Linked DNA regions of Homo sapiens: region 1 is linked to region 2. Evidence: promoter capture Hi-C in human tissues and cell types (Jung and others, 2019). All regions are on one chromosome and are shown on one strand. The core of a region is centred on a gene start or on the middle of the fragment in contact, and the rest is flanking DNA. Distances in the headings are between cores, read along the strand shown.

Region 1 (7,205 bases), core at 3,286-5,785, 590 kb before region 2:
TGACAGATGCCCAAATAAAGATCACACACTAACATAAAAAGATGTAACTGCAGCCAAACATGGTGGCATGCACGTATAGTCCCAGTGCTTTAGGAGACTGAGGTGTGAGGATTGCCAGAACCCAGGAGTTTGAGGCTGCAATGAGCTATAATCTCACCACTGCCCTCCAACCTGAGCGACTGAGCAAAACCCTGTGTCTAAAATAAATAAATAATAAAAACATATAATTGCCTTCAGTTTATAAGACTTTGTGATAAAACGGGAAAAAAGAAAAAACAGTTGTAACTGTGCTTGGAGATACCCACCAGATGGGCCATTCTCACAAACTGATCAAATGATCACTATGGTGGTGTTAAAAATAAGTTTACAAATTGTAACTTTTCCTTCACTGAAAACTGATCAAGAAAGCCAACTCCCCAAATTATAATCTTGTCTTATCTAGTGGTCTGTCCTAGATTGACAGAACATAAAATTGGGCAATTATTCATGTTGTGAAAGGATCCACTACACAAAAAACAAAATTTAAAAATTAACGCAAGTTTCCTTGACATTGTCAACTCCATCAGTACATTTAAAATGGGATTCCAGGCTGGGTGCGGTGGCTCACACCTATAATCCCAGCATTTTGGGAGGCTGAGGCAAGACAACTGCTTGAGCCCAGGAGTTCAAGACCAGCCTGGGCAACACAGAGAGACCTCATCTCTACAAAAAAATATTAAAAGATTGGCCAGGTGTGGTGGTGTGTGCCTGTAGTCCTAGCTGCTTGGGAGGCTGGGGCAGGAGGATCACTTAAGCCAGGAATTCAAGGCTACAGTGAGCTGTGACTCCTCCATTGTGCTCCAGCCTGGGCAACAGAGAGAGATCCCTGTCTCTAAAGAAAAGAAGAAAAAGGAAAGAAAGAAAAGAAACATGCTGGGTTTCAGGAACAATTAGCCTAAGATTTAAAAGATTTCTGTGGAAAAATCAAGTCACTAAGTCACACAAAGACAATTATAGCTGGTGATAATTCATCTTTTTTTTTTTCTTTTTCTTTTGAGACAGGGTCTTGGTCTCGCTGTATCACCCAGGGTGAAGTGTAGTGGCACGATCATGGCTCGCTGCAGCCTCACTCTTCTGGGCTCAAGCAATCCTCCCGCCTCAGCTTCCTGAATCCCTGGGACTACAGGCACATGCCATCACATGAGGCCAATTTTTAATTTTTTTGTAGAGAAGGGTCTCACTATGTTGCCTGAGCTAGTCTCCAGCTCCTGGGCTCAAGCAATGCTCCCACCTTAGCCTCTCAAAGTGCTGGGATTATAGGCATGAGCCACTGGTAAGAATAAATCGCCTACTTTATATTACAGTTAACAGTTAATTACAAATTCCTAAATCACAAAATGTCCCTCTTACTCTTACTATAACAAAGTGAAATAGTCCTACAGGAAAGATCCATTACAATAAGATATACAGTTAGGTGCTGGAAACAAGCAACAGTAAGTAGCTATTGATTATCTTACCATTTTACAATAAATCATGACTTTAAATACTTTACTAGAAAATTTAAAGTTCTTTGACTAGGAAAAATGGACCTCTTTCCATAAAATTTTTGGTTTTGTTTGGGGCTAACCCAAACAATTTATTTAAACCAACTTTAGTATGAAATATACAGATTATACACAAAATAATCTAATACACTCTGGGGCAACCTGGTGAGACAATGCCTCTACAAATAAAATAGTCAGCTGGGCGTGGTGGTTCATGCCTGTGGTCTCAGCTACTGGGGAGGCAGAGGTGTGAGGAATGCTTAAGCCTAGCCATCAGAGGCTGCAGTGAGCTAGGATTATACCACTGCATTCCAACCTGGGTGGCAGGTTGGAATAATATTATTATTTTTTTATTATTTTATATATACATAATTTTGAGACAAGGTCTTGCTCTGTCTCAAATATATATATTATAATAAATATTATTACTAATAAAAATATATAAAATAATATTATTATTACAACCTAATAGTCTTTAGCCAATGAGTAAGAGAATAGCTGAAACTGTGTAACAGTCTGTTTACAGACTATTTCCATATGTAGGCTGATAAGAACAACTCTAATAATATAGCTTTTAAATAATACAGCAATTATTTAAATGCATTCTCATAAATAAAATATATTCTAATTTTCACTGCTCAGGAACAGTGAAGTACTTTATAATTTGGCAGGAGGAAGATTTACTCCCCATACATTAAAGATAAGCAGTAGAAAGAATCTTTATATTTTTGCATCTGACCAGTTTCAACAGCACCCCTAATTGGTGTGGGGTTAGCAAAAAGTTTGTGGTTATTACAATCATTGTATAAAGAGCTAAGTAAACTAGAAGAAACCCAGGACCTTTGATAAAACAGCTTTGTAAATCCTTACCTCAAATATTACAAATGTTTCTATAACTATATATGATTTGTTTGACTTTTGTAGATCTTTATTTCCTGCTTATCCATTACTATGTAATAGTAAGTGTGCTGAAGTAAAGCTGTGAGACTCAATTAAAGGAAAATTTTAATCATAGAGGTCTTTAGATAGCAAAATAGGCAAGAAGCTCTCTTTAGGTCTGGGGAGAGGCAAGAAGCTCTCTTTAGGTCTGGGGAGGGGCCAGAGCATAGGCTTACTTATGGGTGACCACTTAGCCCAAGAGTGTGAGCAGGTGGAAGTGAGAATGCTTTGCAGATACTAGTAGGCCAAAACTCTAGGCATAGTTAATTCAGATACTAGTCCAGACGCAGAAGATTTCAGGAAAACAGACCAAAAGCCTGAGTCAGGAGCTCTTGAGACTGAGCAGGTAACAGGAAGCAAAGGAGGCTAAAGAACATGGTCAGAAGACCATATCCCAGAAGCATCTGAAAGAAGTCTGGTGCAGCTATCTGGAAGCAGCCAGCTGGTTCCTTGGTAGAAAGTGTCCTGTGTGTCTTTTTTTTTTTTGGTAGGGTTGGGGTTTCACCATGCTTTCTAGGCTGGTCTTCAACTCCTGGGTTCAAGTAATCCATCTGCCTCAGCTCCCAAAGTGCTGGGATTACAGGCGTGAGCCACCAGGCCTGGCCATAGAAAGTGTCCTGTCTTGAAGATTGTGCTGAGGGGATAATGAGTCCTTTTTTATGGAAGACATACCACTCATTTGTAAAGAACATATGCTGAACAAAATAGAAAAATTTTAAATGCTAGACACACACATAAGGAAAGCAGTAAAACCCTGAAACTGTAGGTAGTTAAAAATTTAAAATATTTGCATTTTTATTCACAGATGGTCTTCAACTTTCACAGTCTGATTTTCATATATTATATACTTATGTACCTAAGAGGCTTTTCAATGTGGATTTTATATTTTGTGTTCACCAGCTGACAAACTTTTGAGCTACTGAGTGAAGGTGGTACTGGCTCACCAACATTTCACTTTTGGCAGTATCACCACATTGATGCATCTCTGTGAAATTATTAGAGTATTTTATTGGATTTGGGGGAAAATGCAAGTGTTAGTATCAGCAAAAAGAAGCATCTCAATGTAACAGATTGCTTTCAGGTGTTAAGCCAGCCTTCCATGTGCTCAATTATGAATAATGGATAATAAAATGAAAGTGTGTGCACAAATGTTTGAACTGTATTACTGAAGATTATACCAAAAAGGTTAAGTATAATTTAGGATTTTATAATATTTGTTAACTCGCTGAGCACCTGCTTTACAACATTTGAGTCTGACTTTAACCTGCATGGCTTTCGCCCATGTTTCCATGGATACACACACATTTGTAAATTTCAGGACTTGAGAACCTTAAGACATTTTTAGAAAATGTGAAGAAATCTCCAATTTTATTTTTAGCTTTAAAATTTTTTTGTAACTTATTTCTTACCCCCAAAGGATGCGGAAAGTTTCCTATATTAACTATTTTGACCCTACGAGTTTCATGGTGGATTAGAATAGTCAGAAGAAAAGAGAAGGGCAGATAAATGTTTCAATCTGTCTTCAAACATTTAATTATGGCTTACAATAAAATAAAATTTAACCTAATTCTATTACCTATTTTGTCACAGACTGTACATCTTCTTTTTACTTTTTATATTTTCTTAGAGACGGGGTCTCACTCCGTCACCCAGGCTGGAATGCAGTCACACAGACATAGCTTACTGCATCCCAGAACTGGGCTCAAGCAATTCTCCCACCTCAGCCTCCTGAGCAGCTGGGACTATAGGTGTATCCCACTATGTGTGACTCATTTTTTAGATTTTTTTGCTATGTTGCCCAGGCTGGTCATGAACTCCAGGCTTCACGCAGTCTTCCTGCCACAGCCTCCTAAAGTACAGGGATTACAGGCCTGAACCACTGGGCCTGGCCTTTTATTTTTTAAACGAGGTATCTGAGTACATTTCCTTATTTCCTGCTTCATATGACTTTTACTATCAGAAGTAATCCTTTTTACCCATCTTTAGGCTTCCTGCTGTTTAAAAAAAAAAAAACTTAGCTGGGCATGGTGGTGTGCAACTGTAATCCAAGCTACTCAGGAGGCTGAGGGCAGGAGGATCGTTTGAGCCCAGGAGTTTGAGGCTGCAGCAAGCTATGATCACACCACTGCACTCCAGCCTGGGTGACAGAGGGAGATCCTGTCTCTAGAAAAGGTGAGGGTAAGGCTGGGGGAGGAGGGGCGATGGGGGGGCAGGGGACAACACAAATACAGTCAAATAAAAATATAACTCTTCCTTAATCCTCTGTCCTCTTTAGGCCAGGCTCTCTCCTCCTCAAACCTCTCTCATCTTAATTTTAGAGAGTGAAATATGCAGATAGTCTTGGATCTCTTCTTCCCTTCTAATTCTAGACATTCTTAGAACTTAATTCTTTGCCTGCTTTTTCTTCATTACTCATTCCCACCGAGATTACGTCTTCGTATCATGTCTCTATTGATGAAGACTTCATTTTTCATCTTCAGCCTTCTGACATATGTATTTTCAGTTTCTTAATGTATTCACTTTGAATGTCCACTGTCACCTAAAATGTAACATGCCTAAAACATAATTTTATTTTGAATTTATTATTTTAAAAAATAAACCACTGGAGAATTTTAGACTTAATGGAAAAGTTGAGAAGACAGCACACAGAGTTCCCATATGCCTTCTCATTTTCCCCTATTGTTAATAGCTTACTTTATATAGTGCAATCTGTCACAACTAAAGAACCAACAATGGTACACATTTTATTCAGATTGTACTAGGTATTTTATGAGGATGATGGTTAATTTTTTGTGTCAACTTCACTGGGCCACACGCGTTTCGCCAAACATTGTTCTGGGTGGGTCTACGGTGCTGTTTTTGGATGAGATTAGCACTTGGACAGGCAGACTAGCAAAGCAGACTGTCCTTCCCAATGTGGGTGGGTCCCATTCCATCAGTTGAAGGTCTGAATAGAACAAAAAGGCTGAAGCTCCCCCAGGACTCCAGAATCAAAGAAAGGGGGGATTTCCTCCTAACTGCTTTGAATTGGGACCTCAGTTTTTGTCTTTTTTTTTTTTTTTTTTTGAGACGGAGTCTCACTCTGTCGCCCAGGCTGGAGTGCAATGGCACGATCTCAGCTCACTGCAACCTCCGTCTTCCAGGTTCAAGCGATTCTGCCACCTCAGCCTCCCCCCGCCGCCCCCCTGCCCCCGCAGTAACTAGTAACTTGACTGCCATCAAGCCTAGCTAATTTTTGTATTTTTGTAGAGATGGGTTTCAGCATGTTGGCCAGGATGGCCTTGAACTGACCTCAGGTGATCTGCCTGCCTCAGCCTACCAAAGTGCTGGGATTACAGGCATGAGCCACTGCGCCTAGCCCTAAAAACTCTTTATAAAAGGCAAAGCTTAAGCAACTAATTGTAAGAAAAATTAAACCTGAGCTGGGCATGGTGGCTTAGGCCTGTAACCCCAGCTACTTGGAGGCTGAGGCAGGAGGATCTCTGGAAGCCAGGAGTTTGATTGAGACCAGACTGGGCAACACAGCAATCCCATCTCGAAAGAAAAAAAGAAGGGAGGAAGGGAGGGAAAGAAGGAAGGAAAGAGAGAAGCAATTCTGTATATAGAATATGTAAAGAAAGTAAGATATGTTTTTGTAAGGAAAGCTATAAAGGCATAAAAATATGTGTTTGCTGAGAAAAAAAGTTATTTAAAGGTTATTTCAAATTGAATGAATTTTTAGAAGAGATATAGTCTGGCACCACGCAGTCCTGCGCAGTCCTGCACAGTCCTGCTTGGTTGCATGGCAGCACCTGGGGGTGCCCAGCTGGAGGGATGGGGCAGGATCGGGGCCAACAGGCAGCAAGCCAGGATCCTGCAGCAGCCAGCACCTTCCTCCTGCTGGTGTCAGAGCTGGGCATGGGGGGCAGCATGCCTGTGAGTAGCCTCAGAAGGCTGAGGTCCCTGCCCCCAATATTGGCACCTAGGCCTGCACCCTCACACCCTTCATGACCACAACCAAATTTTCTTGTCAATTATGTCTTTAACCATGATCATTTTGTTTCCACAGTTAATTGCTTTATACGGATGCATTTTCTTTAAGCTCTTTACAACCAAGTAAAATCCTAGAGCATTATGTCTTCAAGAACGTTCATGGAAAGTAATGGAAAGGACCCTAATAAGCACTACTGAATACAAGTTTCTGATAACTTTAGGCTCATCTAATTTGGACTGGGTAAGAATTCCCAGAACTTTAATAAAGAGACTGGTTTATAAAACTGCTAACCCAAGCAGGACAAAAATTAACTGAATACTAAGAAAAATACTCTGCCAGATTTTCATGCTAAATCAGCCAGTACTAAAACTGTTAAGATATGCAACTTGAATGAACTCTATGTTCCAAGTCAAATTACCTATGATAACCCATTTAATGAACAGTGCTATGCACCTGAATTGGAGATACAAAATTGGTATTTAACAGGCTATAAATGCAATGTTAAGCATGGAATCACAGAGATCCTGCACAGCCACCTGGTCCTTCCTGAATCCGTAAATCTTCCATTATTAAAAGCTCTGCACTCCATGACTCATCATGGAAGACAGAAAATGATCCAAATAGAAAACATATACATTGGTGTGGTGACTGCTCTAAATCGCTAAAAATGGTTTATGACCAAGGTTTGGCTTATCAAACCTACAACCTGGGAAGATAATTAAAACTTCAGCTACCTGATGGGTCATTGGAACACTTATAGAGGAATTTCA
Region 2 (6,300 bases), core at 1,986-4,485:
TGGAGCAACAGGAATTCTTATTCATTGTTGGTGGGTGCAAAATGATGCAGCCACTTTGGAAGACAGTGTTGGCAGTCTCTTACAAAACTAATGATATGGACAGGAGGCAGGAGGGCGGGATTCCTGGTGAGGGTTCTTACCCTCAAGCTTGGACCCATGGCCCTAAATGAGAACAGGCATTCCTGTTTTCACGCCTGTACGTTGCCTTTTCCAAGACCATTGTGGCCCACCCTGCTCTCTATCCTGTGCCCATAAGAACCCCAAATCCCAGGCTCCACAAACAGAAGAGCAGCAGAGGGGCAGAGGGGCAGAGCTGCAGAGCAAGGTGGTGGAGAAGGAGAAAAGAGAAGAAGCAATTGAGCATTGAAGAGGTAGCTGGATGGTCAGAGAGGAATTTGGCCAGGGACAGCAGAACTCCAGGGGACGATTATCTTCCCACGCCATCCCCTTTCCAGCTCCCCATCCTGCTGAGAGCCACCTCCCTCACTCAATAAAACCTCTGCATTTACCATTCTTCAAGTCCATGTGACCTGATCCTTTCTGGATGCTGGACAAGGACCTGGGTATTAAGAGGGCAGGGTGTAAAAGGCTGTCACCCTCACTCTCCACTGAGCTGGTTAACGCTTAGCTGTCCATGGATGGCAACTGCTAGAAGAGCATTAATTGTAACACACCCCTAGATGCTACCATGGGGCCAGAGCCCAAAGGTGCTCACCCTGGCCCTGGCACCCACTTGCCTCTGTGCTCCCCCTCCCATAAGGGGTTTTAGCACAGTGGCTGAGTAAGCTAGCCACGACAAGTCCCGCGAAGGGGTCCAGGGAACTCTCCTGTCTCATTAACATACTGTTACCACACAATCCAGCAACCATGCTAATTTTTTTTTTTTTTTTTGGAGACGGGGTCTCGCTCTGTCGCCCAGGCTGGAGTTCATTGGTGCAATCTCGGCTCACTGCAAGCTCCGCCTCCCAGGTTCACGCCATTCTCCTGGCTCAGCCTCCCAAGTAGCCGAGGCTACAGGTGCCCGCCACCACGCCCGGCTAATTTTTATTTTTGTATTTTTATTAGAGACAGGGTTTCGCTGTGTTAGCCAGGATGGTCTCGATCTCCTGACCTCGTGATCCGCCCGCCTCGGCCTCCCAAAGTGCTGGGATTACAGGCGTGAGCCACTGCACCCGGCCGCAACCATACGATTTACCCAAATGAACTGGAAACTTATATCCTCACAAAACCTGAACACAGATGTTTAGAGCAGCTTTATTCATAGTTGCCAAAACTTAGAAGCAACCAATGTATCTTCAGTAGGTGAATGGATTTAAAACACTGGTACATGCAGACAGTAGAATATTATGCAGCACTAAAACGAACTGAGGCTGGGCACAGTGGCTCATCCCTATAATCCCCGCACTTTGGGAGGCCAAGGCAGGAGGATTTCTTGATCCCAGGAGTTTGAGACGAGCCTGGGCAACATGGCAAAATGCCATCTCTACAAAAAATACAAAAAATTACCCAGGCATGGCTGTGTATGCCTGTAGTTTTAGCTACTTGGGAGGCTGAACTGGGAGGGTCACTTGAGCCCAGGAAGTGGAGGCTGCAGTGAGCCATGATCGCACCACTGCACTCCAACCTGGGTGACAGAGTGAGACCCTGTGTCAAAAAAAAAAAAAAAAAAAAAAAGCCAGGGTAACTTGAGGGAAACATGAGGGAAACTTAAATGTATATTACTAAATGAAAGAAGCCAATCTGAAAAAGCAACATATGTATGATTCCACCTATATGACAACCTGCAAAAGGCAAAACTATGGAGACAGTAAAAATATCAGAGATTTCCAGGGGTTGTGGGATGGATGAATAAATGGAGCACAGATGATTTTTTGGGGGGCAGTGAAACTATTCTGTACGATACTGTAATGGTTACAGGCATTTGTCAAGACCCATAGAATGTACAACATCAAGTGAACACTAATGTAAGCTATGGACTTTGGGTGCCAATGATTTTGTTTTTTAATTTATACTTTTTGAGACAGGGTCACCCAAGCTGGAGTGCAGTGGCACAATCTTGGCTCACTGAAACCTCAGCCTCCCAGGCTCAAGTGATCCTCCCACCTCAGCCTCCCGAGTAGCTGGGACTACAGGTGCGTGCCACCATGCCCGGCTAATTTTTGTATTTTTTTTTTTTTTTTAAGAGATGAGGTTTCACCATTTTGGCCAGGCTGGTTTCAAATTCCTCGGCTCAAGCAATCTGCTTGCCTCAGGCTCCCAAAGTGCTAGGATTACAGGTGTGAGCCACTGAGCCTGGCCAGGTGCTGATATTTAACTGTAGGTTCACCAATTGTAACAAATACACTGTTCTGGTGTGGGATATCAACTTTGGGGAGGTTGTGTGTGCTGGGGGGACATGGGTTATATGGGAATTCAATGTATTTTCTGCTCAAATTTTGCTGTGAACCTAAAACTGTTCTAAAGGATGAAAGGAACTGAGGGTGAAGGGAAATGGGAAGATGGTGGTCAAGGGGTACAAAGTCTCAGTTATGCAAGATGAGTAGTTCTGGGGAGATGCACAGCTATGTGACGATAGTTGACAATATTGTGTACTTGAAATTTGCTAAGAAGATAGATCTTAAGTGTTCTCATCAGACAAATAACTATGTGAGGTGATGCACATGTTAATTAGCTTGATTATGGTGAATATTTCACAAATGTAGATATCAAGTTGTACATCTTAAATATATAGATCTCAACAAATATATATACCTCAACAAAGTGGCCTGGGAAAAAAGGGAAAAAAGCTAGTTGCAGCACATGATACCTTTATGGCCAGTTTTGTAACAACAACAAAAAAATCAAAGTGCGAACTTAATGTTATACGCAGTTAATCTTTAGAAAGTGAGATTATGGATACTTTATTTTGTACATATATTCTAATTAAATACAGTTATAGATTATTTGTGTAATGTTTAAAAGCCAAGTTGTTGTATTTAAGGGGGAGGTGGTGAATTGTAGTTCACGACCCACTCTGGGAAAAAAGAAAACAGTGCAGGCTAAGGAGATTATTTTGGTCGGCTCATCAGACCGCCTAACAAGGCGAAGACTTTCCTGAGAGTCCCTAAAGCCGCGGCCCCGGAGGCTTGTGGGAAATGTAGTCCCGAACGTGGATGGTCCACCCCTCCGAGGACCCTGGGAACGGCCCGCGCCCCTGTTTCTGCGCATGTGCAGTGCTGCGAGCGCGCCGGTGGCCGCCCTTCCCCCACCACCAGCGGCGAGTGGGTGACAGAGCCCCCGTCTCCGCGCGTCTTCGCCGCCCTGCGCCGTGACCCGCTGTGGCACTGGGCCACGAGTGGAGGCTGCGCCCCTCCAGGTACGAGAGGGGCTTCCAGGTAGCTCCGCGCGGCCTGGGGCCGAGGGGAAGGAGATGAGGGATGGGCTCGTGCCCGCGCAGGGTGGGAGCCCAAACTTCGGCTACTCGTAGGCGGCAGTGACCCTCAGGGCGGCGTCCGGGGTTGCCCGGCGCTCGCCTCTGAACGGGGCCGGCGGGGCACGCCTGGCCGAACGTGCGGGGGCGGGGACGGCGGAGGGAAGGGCGGCTATGAGGCTTCGCCTTCTTCTCTTTGTCAGGAGATGCGCCTCAGACGGGCGGCGAAGGGCTCGGGCCGCGCGGGAGCGAGTTCTGGAGCCCCGGCGGGCGCGCGCGCGCGGGACGAGGCCCCGCCGGGGCGTGGTGGGGGCGTGGCCTGACACACCTGGCCACGCCCCGATGCCCGGTGCCTCGTGGGTGGAGGAAGGACTGGAGCCTGGTCAGTTGCCGGTGGTGAAGGAGAACCGTGATCCCTTTGTCAGAGGGTCTTCAGTGAGGTGTTCCCCTGATCCTCGCATCCACCCCGTGACTTCCAGCGTTATCATCTCCGTCGCTATCCCAGGAACACGGGAGGTTCAGAAGGGGAAAGTGATTTCCCTAAGGTCTCACAACCCGGTGGTACTTTATGTGAGCAGCAGATATTTTTTCATTTATCTTTTGATTTTACTCGCTGGTAGATTTTGCCATGTATACGTTTTGACGTTTTAAATTTCTCTCGGGTGGAATTTACTGTTCTTTCCGTTTGGGGCACCCAAAATTCTTCACTACTTTGAAATACGAAAGTTTTCCCATGATTCTGGTGCAGTCACGCTCTGCGTAACAGTGTTTCTGTCAACGAGGGACCTCATGTAAAATGGTGGTCCTATGTGATTGTAATACTATATTTTTGTATTGTACCGTTTCTTTTCTTTACTTTCTTTTTTTTTTTTTTTTTTTTGAGACGGAGTCTCGCTCTGTCGTCCAGGCTGGAGTGCAGTGGCTTGATCTCGGCTCACTGCAACCTCCGCCTCCTGGGTTAAAGTAGTGCTCTGCCTCAGCCTCCCGAGTAGCTGGGATTACAGGCGTGAGCCACCGCGTCCGGCCAGACACAATTTATTGATGTAACTGTTCCTCTAAATACTACTTTAACTACATCACTCAAATTTTTATATCTTGTATTTTCTTTTCTGTTGTTGTTGTTTTTGAGACTGAGTCTCACTCTGTCACCCAGGCTGGAGTGCAGTGGCACTCAGCTCACTGAAACCTCTGCCTCCCGGGTTCAAGCAGTCCTCCTGGCTGGGATTACAGGCACCCGCCACTACACCTGGCTGATTTTTGTATTTTTAGTAGAGACGGGGTTTCACCATGTTGGCCCGGCTGCTCTAGAACTCTTGACCTCAAGTGATTCTCCCGCCTTGGCTTCCCAAAGTGCTGGGATTACAGGCATGAACCACTGCACCCAGCCTTTTTATTGTGTTTTCATTACCATTCAATTCAAATTTTTTTAACTTCCCTTGTGACTTCATTTTTTACCCTTATTTATTTAGATTGTATTGCATAATTTCCAAGTTTTTGGAGATTTTCCAGATCTTTTTTTTTTTTTTTTTGAGACAGAGTCTCGCTCTGTTGCCCAGTCTGGAGTGCAGTAGCGAGATCTCGGCTCACTGCAAGCTCCGCCTACCAGGTTCACACCATTCTCCTGCCTCAGCCTCCAGAGTAGCTGGGACTACAGGCGCCCGCCACTACACCTGGCTAATTTTTTTATTTTTTTTTGTATTTTTAGTAGAGACGGGGTTTCACCGTGTTAGCCAGGATGGTCTCTATCTCCTGACCTGGTGATCCACCTGCCTCGGCCTTGCAAAGTGCTGGGATCACAGGCGTGAGCCATCGCACCCGGCCCAGATCTTTTTATATTATTGATTTATAGTTTAATTCTGATTTGGTCAGAATACTGTGTTACGAATTTCAATTATTTTAAATTTGTTGTGGTTTGTTTTTGTATTGTATTTTTGTTTCATTTTGTTTTAGTAGACTCCTGGTCTCAAGTGATCCGCTGACCTTGGCCTCCCAAAGTGCTTTACAGGCGTGAGCCACTGCACCAGGCCTGTTGTAGTTTGTTTTAAGGTCGAGGATATGATGATCTCTCTGGGTAACTGTTTCGTGTGTATTTGAATAAATATTGTGCTGTTGATCGTAGAATCTTCCTTGATTGATTGATTGATTGAGACAGGGTCTGTCTCTGTTGCCCAAGCTGGAGTGCAGTGGTTCAGTCACAGCTGTCTGCAACCTCAAACCTTTTGCCTCAGCCTCCCGAGTAGCTAGGACTGCAGGTGTGCGCCCTAATCCTTTTGCCTCAGCCTCCGGAGTAGCTAGGACTCAAGGTGTGAGCCACCACACTCAGCTAATTTTCTGTATTTTTTGTAGAGACGAGGTTTTGCCATGTTGCCCAGGCTGGTCTCAAACCCCTGGGCTCAAGCAGTCCACCCACCTTTGCCTCCCAAAGTGCTGGGTTTACAGGCATGAGCTACTGTGCCTGACCCTCTTTTTCCATTCTTTTATCTTTTTTTTTTTTAATTTCCTGACTCCTACAACTGATCATCCTTTTACTTTGAATGTAGCTATGTTTTTATATTTTAAACAAACTGCTTATAGACAGCACATGGTTTGGTCTTACTTTTTTTATATAATTTGACCTCTGTTATTTAATTGGTGTGTTTATGCCAATTATTGATATAGTTGTGTTAAAGTCTACCATCTTGCTGGTTTTTTTCTGTTTTTCTTATTTGGTCTTTGTTTCTGTTTACCTTTTTTTCTGTCTACTTTTGTCTTAAGTGGGTCTTTTTTATAATTACATTTTATCTCCACTGTTGTCTTATTGTATATTTGTAAAAATTTAACAGAGTTTTTGGTTGTTACCCTAAAGTTTAGTGGAACTTTAAAGATATCATACTGTTTTATGTCAATATACT

What was found. Contacts are between HindIII fragments. The study calls those that stand out against the background at their distance.
Region 1: a contact is called between a fragment that was not itself captured here and the fragment with the promoter of ZFP1 in region 2, in 1 of the 25 tissues and cell types used here (dorsolateral prefrontal cortex).

Annotation. Positions count from the first base shown.
Region 1 is chr16:74,554,818-74,562,022 of GRCh38, forward strand. All of the region lies in intron 1 of GLG1 (golgi glycoprotein 1), which reads right to left. Among named protein-coding and RNA genes, the nearest start is that of GLG1, 49 kb to the right of the region's middle. RefSeq lists a silencer at 2,741-2,941. The HindIII fragment of the contact is 4,018 bases long and covers 2,527-6,544 here.
Region 2 is chr16:75,145,289-75,151,588 of GRCh38, forward strand. ZFP1 (ZFP1 zinc finger protein) reads left to right here and starts at 3,236. Exons shown (of 4, transcript NM_153688.4): 1 at 3,236-3,355. RefSeq lists an enhancer at 3,047-3,096 and a silencer at 3,457-3,826. The HindIII fragment of the contact is 27,656 bases long and covers 1-6,300 here.